2 separate regions of the Homo sapiens genome follow, and region 2 is linked to region 1. Evidence: promoter capture Hi-C in 16 types of primary human blood cells and fetal thymus (Javierre and others, 2016). All regions are on one chromosome and are shown on one strand. The core of a region is centred on a gene start or on the middle of the fragment in contact, and the rest is flanking DNA. Distances in the headings are between cores, read along the strand shown. Region 1 holds the start of CRACDL (CRACD like). Region 2 has its middle 44 kb from the start of INPP4A.

The links. The method cuts DNA at HindIII sites, captures the fragments that hold promoters and counts their contacts. A CHiCAGO score of 5 or more calls a contact.
Region 2: a fragment that was not itself captured here is called in contact with the fragment with the promoter of CRACDL in region 1 in 1 of 17 cell types (total CD8 T cells); the score reaches 5.1 in total CD8 T cells.

What each region holds. Positions count from the first base shown.
Region 1 is chr2:98,933,991-98,938,197 of GRCh38, reverse strand. It overlaps CRACDL (CRACD like), which reads left to right and starts at 1,973. Exons shown (of 10, transcript NM_207362.3): 1 at 1,973-2,260. RefSeq lists a silencer at 2,606-2,806. The HindIII fragment of the contact is 4,194 bases long and covers 1-2,809 here.
Region 2 is chr2:98,399,125-98,403,331 of GRCh38, reverse strand. No RefSeq gene overlaps it. Among named protein-coding and RNA genes, the nearest start is that of INPP4A, 44 kb to the left of the region's middle. The HindIII fragment of the contact is 200 bases long and covers 2,008-2,207 here.

The DNA.
Region 1 (4,207 bases), core at 724-3,223:
GAGCCTCCTTGACTGCCAGCCACTTGGCAGGGCCCTGGGAACCAGAGCTCTCACAGGAAGATGAAAGTCCCAGGGGTAGGGGAGGGGCACAGTTTCTTTCCACATTTTTAAAGCATGAAGGTGCTTGCTCTACCAGGCTCCAGATAATTTTCCATTTTCCCAACCTATTCACAAAATTCCCCACCAGTTTCTATTTTGAGTGTTGACACCATGTTCTCGGCCTTAACTAATCACCAGGAACCTCGGTTTTTGTCTTCTGAAAACCTCCAGGAACTTCAAAAGCCACCCACAGAATACAAATAAAGCCAGAGGTTTAAGATATTCTGGAAACGAAATTCTTAGGTAGAAAGGCAGTTTATGGAGTCCATAAATATTTAGTAGTTACAGCGGCAAAAACTAACATGATTTTGAAGAGCAAGGAGCAGAGGCTCAAGGTGGGAGAGGAGAGAGGGGAGTATAGTTTTTGCAGTTGTTCAGTTTAGTTTGAGGATTTTGAAAAAAACAAACACACAGACACCCAACAAACTCGTTGTCTCTGATTGTCATGAGTCACCCATTCATTGTGAATGCAGGTTATTAATTTGGGGGGGGGTTATAAGGCTGAATCACTATTTTTGTTCTTTTTATACAGGGAACTTAAAGCACTTAACCATCAAAAGAGGCTTTTACGTGAATAGCTTGTGGCCAAGGGATAACATTAAAAATTCAAAAAGGAAACTTCGTTTGATATGCCCAAGTAAATGGGAAACTGTCTTGGGCCTCGTTTCGCTCGATTCTTCTATCTGGGATTTTGAGCCCCTTGAAAGCCACAGGTGGAGAGAGCTCCTTCCGGGGTCCAGGCCCTCTCGGCCTCCGACAGCCGAGCAGCTCGGCTTTTCCAGGCCTCCAGTGTGCGCGGCGCTAGCCGTCGGACCCAGCGTCCCGCGGAGTAGCGCGGATTCCGCGTGATCCCCTCCAAACAATGCGGACCTCGCCGCTCATTCTGGCGTCCGGTGACACCCGAGACTCCCCGTCTGACGTTAGTATCATCTCTTCCAGCCTGGGTTGAAGGCGTCCCCTGAGGACTCGTCGCAGCCTGGGCTCCCTGCTGGGACGCGACTCCCGCGCCTCTCGCCTGCCTGGCCCTGGGCGTGCACCGCCGGGGAAGAGGCCGGGACGGGGTCGCCGGGCTGTGCCATCCGCAGACCAAAGCCGCGGCTCGGGCTCCGGAGGAGATTCGCTGGGCGACCACCCAAGGCAGCTCCCTCCGTGCGCGGTCTCCCTAAATGGACCAGCCCTGTCTTTACAAGAAAAAGGATTTTAAAAAAAGAAGAAAGAAAGAAAATAAAGAAAGGCGAGCGCAGCTGAGACGGCATCAGCTGCCTTTCTTCCCACACTCGCCGGTGTCACACCCATGAATCACCTCCAGACGGGGCGGCAGCTTCCCTAATTAGCCTGGAGACGCTCAGGACCCACAGGGTTATAAAACAACAACAATAACAAACTTTTACTTTTATTCAAATGCACACTTCCTTCCCTCGGCGCCCACGCCCGCCGCAGGCCACTGACTTAGAGGGCGGATCCGGAGGTCACCTGGAGTCCCGGGTCCCTCTCACCGACGCGCGCGGGTGCCCTGGGCCAGTCCCGGACTGACTTGCCACCACCTCCGGGTCTCCGGTGCCCCCCGGCCCTCCCGGAGCCCCGACAGCGCCGCTGCGCGGACAGGCCGAGGCGGGTCGGGAGCGGCGCGGGCTTGGGAGGGAGCGCTGGGCAGCCGGGCCCGCACCCCGATTGCCCTCCCCGCACCCCGATCGCCCTCCCGCCTCCCGCGGGGCGTCCAAGGCCCAGGCCGGCGCCTGCGCCCCCCGCCCCGAGGTCTCGGCCCCACTCCGCCGGGCCAGCTGCGGAGGCGGCGTTGGGAGCTGTGCGCCGCGGGGGAGGTGCGCGCGGCGGCCGGCGAGGGGAGCTGAGCGGCGTCCGCCCCCGCCGAGCCGAGCGGAGCCGAGCGAAGCCGGCGCGCCTGCAGCTGGGAGCTGGGAGCTGGGAGCGCGCCGGGCGCAGGGCCGGGCCGGCCGCGGGAGGGTAGTGTCAGCGCCCGCGTCCAGCTCTTCGGCCGCAGACCCGGGCTGTCTGGAGGCCGCGCGGCCACCTGCTGCGTCGCCCCGGCTTTGGGCTGGGGCTAGACGCGCACCGCGGCGGGAGCAGCCCCGGCTCGCCGCACCCCGCGGAAGGTGCCCTTCTCTGCGCGTCTCGCCGAGCCCGGGCCACGCTCCTGTCCCAGGTACCTCGAGGGGTTTGAAATCGCGTGTCCCAAGGCAGGCGTGGGTCGAAGGCGGGGTGGGCGCGGGGGCACCGGGCGGAGGTGGGGCGGGCCGGGGCTAGGGGGTCGAGGGCAGAGGCCGTGAAGCCAGGGGCCCCTCGGACCCGGAGAGGCGCCACCCCCGCCGCCGAAGCCCTGGGCAGCTCCTGCGGCCGAGGGGGAGCCGGACGCGCTCGTGCAAGTGCCCAAAGTTTCCCTTTGCTCACTTTGCTGGACCCAACTTTCCACTGTGAGGCAAATCCAGCAGTTTACGCGCCAGGAAAATGAAAGAGGAGGGAGAGAAGGTCCTGCTCGGTTGAAATTGCTAGCATACGAGGTCTTTATGCCCACTGTCTCCACACGCAGTTGCAGGGGAAAGGAGTGGACACATTCACGAACTGCCTTATGCTTTAGGTGATGGTTTATTTAACAGGTTTTAGGCTTTGATTACACGCCACCCGGGAGGGATTCTGGAGTTGATCTAAGAAGTGTTCACATTTTTAATCAACAAATATTTGTTGAACAGAAGCTTCATCATAGGCAAAGATTCGGTATGAAGTTCACATGTGATCAGAGCATAATAGTCACTTGCTTTTGAAATGCAAGTCAGAAGCAGTGCGGCTGTGTGAATTTGACTCCGTGTAGGTGCAAACCGCCTGCAGGCATCAGGTCCTGTTGACAGTTTTGAGCCAGGAAATCCAAGTGGAAGACAGGCAGCTGTGTTACCCTTTTAGAGCCAGCTCACACCTTCCCAAACTGGTCTTAAGGTATCCTACTAGGTTATTGGAGCCTGCAGGCTTCCTTCATTTGCATATACCATAGACTAGAATCTGTGTAGACCCCTGGTATTTTCCCTGGAGCTCGGTCCCACGGGCGCACACCTGGAATGATGGAGCACTGTGGTCATCCTAAGAACCTATTGAGGTTATAAAATTGTGAGGAGAAAGATATCTAGAGACAGTGTCGTGTGGAGCTGGTGGAGAAGGTTGAGCTGGGCTGGTTTCTGGGCTCTGCCCCTATGCTGTGCCATCTTGGAGTCTGAGGCAACAGGAAAAATCAGGAACACTGATCCTGTCTTTATTTAAAAATGTGAGATTTTGTACATTAGGGATTTTTGTATTTGTTTTGATGTTTTAAAATATTGTAATAAGGCATTTATCTGACTGCATTTTTGGTACCCCCTTAAATTTTGTGCCTGTAGTGAGTACCTGGCTTGCCTGAGTCTGATTCTGGACCTCCTCCACGAGTCAAGTTCTTACTCTCTAAGCATCTGTTTCCTCACTTATAAAATAAAGTGTACCATCCATGGATGCTGCGCAGCTCAGCTGCTGCATAGGATGCGTCATGTGGGGCTCACTAACGGGTGGCTGTCCTGCTGAGATCACTGCTCTGCTTGGCCCTCTTAGGCTAGTTAAGATGAATCTTGGCTGGGCGCGATGGCTCACACTTGTAATCCCAGCACTTTGGGAGGCCGAGGCAGGTGGATTGCCTGAGGTCAGGAGTTCGTGACCAGTCTGGCCAACGTGGTGAAGCCCTGACTCTACTAAAAATACAAAACAAAAATAGCCAGGTGTGGCGCCTGTAATCCAGCTACTCGGGAGGCCGAGGCAGGGGAATTGCTTGAACCAGGGACGTAGAGGTTGCAGTGAGCTGAGATGGCACCACTGCACTCCAGCCTGGGCAGCAGAGTGAGGCTCAGTCTCAAAAAAAAAAAAAAAAAAAAAGGATGAATCTTGACCAATCTCAGTGCACCATTCAGGGAAATGAGAGCAGTGATAGTGCTATGGTTTGAATGTTTGTGTCCCCCCAAAAATTCATATGTGGATTCCTAATCCTCAAGGTGATGGTATTAAGAGATGAGGCCTTTGGGAAGTGATAGGTCATGAATGGGCTTGGTGCCCTTATAAAAGAAGCGCAAGGAGCTCGCTC
Region 2 (4,207 bases), core at 858-3,357, 540 kb after region 1:
TCTTTGGCCAGTGGAAGTGCATTCAAATTGGATTCTATTTTCTACTGACATAATCTCAGTGTCTTTGATAATTCCCTTGCTTTCTGGCAAAACAAAATGTTTTGGGTTCATCTTGGTTCCTTTAAATGTAAAATTGTATTTAGAGACTACAACCTGGGTGCTATGGGCACTCATTGCTGCTGAGTTATTGTTCTGAGCTTTTTCAGTGAGCAGAGTACTTGGCCTTATGTCAATATTTTCCCGGTCTTTCTGGTCTTCTGAGGTTCTCCTCTTGTAGATTGCTCAGGAAGGGCTCATGAAAACAATACTCCTGAGTTTTTGCATGTTTATAACTGTTTATCTGCAGCCTTTCTACCTCAAGGCCAGTTTGGTTGGACATAAAATCTGTGGCTCATATTTTTTGTCTTTGAATATCATGCATGTGTTATTTCATTGTCTTCTAGCATGAAGTGCTATTTTATAAAAGTCTGAAGGCAATCTGATATTACCCCCTTGTAAGTGACTTTGTCTTTTTGCTTGAATGTCAAAAACGTTTTTTCTTTTCTTTTGCAGTCTATAAGTTTTACTGTTATATGTCTCAGTGCCAGTTTTCTGGCTCAATTTTCCCAGAATGCAGAATGTGTCTTCAATATCTAGTTCAAGCTAATTTTTATTTCAGGAACTTTTCTTAAATGATAAGTTTTAGTGTTGTGCTCTATTCCTGTGCTTTGGTACTTGTTTGGGATTCTTATTAACATGCTAGATCTTTGTTGTTTATTCTCCATCACTTTTCTCACAAATTCTTTTTATCTTTTTCATTTCTTTTTGATTAAAAAAAAGCATTTTGGGAGCAGTTTTAGGTTCACAGCAAAATTCCCATATACCTGCAACATACTTCATATTTTTGAAAGTGGTATCAAAGGTGCATTTGCTGTGACAGATGAACCTACACTGACAATTTTTCTCTTGAAGTCCATAGTTTACATTGGTGTCCACTCTTGGTGTTGAACATTCTGTGGGTTTTCACAAAGGTATAACAACATGTATTTACCACTACAGTATCATACAGAGTATTTTCAGTGCCCTGAAACTCTCTGCACTCCACCTGTTTATGCTTCTACTCCCCCAACCCCTGGCAAACACTAATTTTTTTTTTTTACTTTTGCCACAATTTTGTCCTTTCCCAAATGTCATATTCGGAATATCTTTTTTGATTTTTAAGACATTTTTCCTTTCCATCTTTGATTTCTCTTAAAACATTGCTTACTATGTTTATTTGCTCTTGTGTTCCTTTTAATTCAGTTTTTAAAATTTTTTTTGTTCTTTTATTTCTAGTACTTTTCTGAGTTCTGTTACAGCTCTTGTCAAATCTTCCTTTTCCTCAATCACCTCATCCTTGATTCTGGTTTATGCTGTTTTTTTTTTAATAGCATCTATCATTCTCTTAATTTCTCTTGGCTGGTTTTGAAATGATGAGTCAGTTTACATCCGTTCTGTGGGCATGTCTTTCTGGTGGGTTTCATTATCTGCAGAGATGTTATACTCCATCTGATTCTTCCTCGCTGTCTTTTTAATAAAGACTTTGCATGAAATTTGAGGGTGCATCTTTTCTGTTGTTCGTCTTCTAAGTGAGTTGAATGTGCTTATACTTTAGAGAGAAGAGATGGAGCATGATTTACTTTTTTCTAACTTCATAGTTCTCTAATTCTCTCTTCGGCTGTTTTCTCAAAGTGATAAAAATATATATGAAGTAGTGCTACCTCCTCTGCTTCTCTACCCTCTTTTATCTAAACTTTTTCTTTCCTTTGTCACTACTGTTTCTGTCCTGTGATCAATTTGGATTTTACTCCAAATTGTCTCTCAGTGAGGGGTTTTGTCTTAGAAGGAAGCTTCTTTCATACTAGAAGAAAACATAGGGTAAATCCTCCATGACATTGATCTGGGAAATTATTTTTAAAGATGTGAACCCAAAAACACAGACCACAAAAGCAAAAATAGACAAATAGGATTACATTAAACTAAAAAGCTTCTGCACAGCCAAGGAAACAAACAAGAGTGAAGAGACAACCTACAGAATGAGAGAAAATATTTGCAAACCATACATTGATGAGGGTTAATATCTAAAATATATAAGGAACTCAAACAACTCAATAGCAAGCAAACAAATAACCCAATGTAAAAATGGGCAAAGGATCTGAATAGATGTTTCTCAAATAAAGAAAGAAGCTTTATTCTGTGAACATCCAGAGTGTGCAGCACCGAGAGTGTCCCTGCACATCAATCTTGCAGCATCATTGTCAATTTGCTGTCACCCACAAATTGATCCCTGCAGAATCTCCCTTAATTCCAGCTGTTCTCAGACAGGCTCTCCATGCTTTTTAGTGAGCACCTGTTGGTGATTTGGGTGTTTTCATATCCTCAGGGATGTCAGATGTTGTCTGTGGATCTTTAGATTTGTTATCTTATTTGCTGTGTTTTATGTGAGGACTTAGAGAGCCCAACAAACTACACTGCCACCACCACCATTTTTCCAGAATCTCAAAAATCTTAATGAAGTTTCTACCATAATAATAATACATATTCTTTAATTGTTACATTGCCTTCCTCTCTCTGATCTTCCTGCCTCCCACTTATCAGAATCCTTGTGATTATATCAGGTCCCCTTGGAAAATCCAGGATAACTTTCCCACCTCAACCTCCTTACTGTAATCCCATTCACATGACCAGTTGATATTGACATTATGTTCCCCCATGGCAGTGTAGAGGCTGCTGGATCCTTGGCTCCAGTTCTGAGTGCAAGATCCATCAATAAGGCTTTACATCCTGGGGTGGAAAGTATCAAATAATCTACATATATGATCTGGAATCCTTCTGTAAAAAATATGTGTCCTTTCTCCCTCATTAATTTATTTATTCAATCATTCATTTATGGCATAGACTCATGGACTTTTATACTTTGGGATATAGTCTAATACTAAATTTAAAAATTTTGTTTTTCAAATGGCTTCAGTTTTGGCCATTGGGAGCTCTTTCAGGTTGGTTGCTATGTCCCTCTAATTTACTTCCATCATTGTGTGTGTGTGTGTGTGTGTGTGTGTGTGTGTGTGTGTGTGTATGTAGAAAGCCCTATCGCCACTTGCCCCCCAACATTGTGCTTTTTGAGTACTTTCCGGCACTACAAGACACTCCATGCTCATGGTATATTTTCCCCGTCTCAGCCCTAGAATCAGCCCTGGTTCCTTTTATTGGAGAAAGATATTTGGAAACCAAGATCTGGGTGCTTGGTGTGCTCTTTGTAATAGGTATCACTGCCAAGCCTTCTTGGTACACAGAGTTAGAAATATATCTATGTATACCAACATATATATACATACACACACACACACACACACACACACACACCTACAATCATTTCTGCATCTGTCTACCTGGATATATAAATAAACGTGAGTTCATTCTAATGTCTGATTTCAATCCAGTACCACAGGGTTCATTCTGATCTTGTGTGGTCTTATTTGTAACTTCTTTTTCTGACTATGATAAATCTGGCTTCCATTTTTTAAAACATTTATTTATTTATTCCCTCATTCATGCATTCATCCATAGTATAATGTAATTCTGAATTAGTAACGCATATCCCCGTGTGAAACAAATTTACAACTAGAGTACAGTATTCATGTCACATCTTTTCATCTTTAGCCTTAGTTTCTACTCAAAGCACCATTTTTAACATTACTTAGGTCATTGTTTTACCCTATGTCCTTCAGTAAAGTTATGTCATATATTTCTAATATAGCTAGATTCATTTGTCACAATCTGCTTTCCATCCTTATATTGCCCACATTCGGGTTGATATTTTAAAATTTCATACATTACAGTTTATTCTTTGTGGTATACAGTTCTGTGAGAGTGAACAATGCACAGTCATATACCCACCACCCCAACACCATGCAAAACAGTTCCATCACACTAAAAATTCCCCCGTGATCTCCTTTGCAATCAGCCTCTACACCTCCTGACAACCCCTGGCAACCGCTGAGCTGTTTTCCACCATTATTGTTTGCCTTTTCCAGAATGTCATACAAATGGAATCTTTTTCCCTTGATCAATTGCTCATTCATTTTCATTCCTGAGTAGTATTTGATTATAGGTGATTGTATAAATATACCACTGTTTTACTTTTTTCTTTATTTCTTTCGTTTTTTTTTTTTTTTTTAGAGACAGGGTC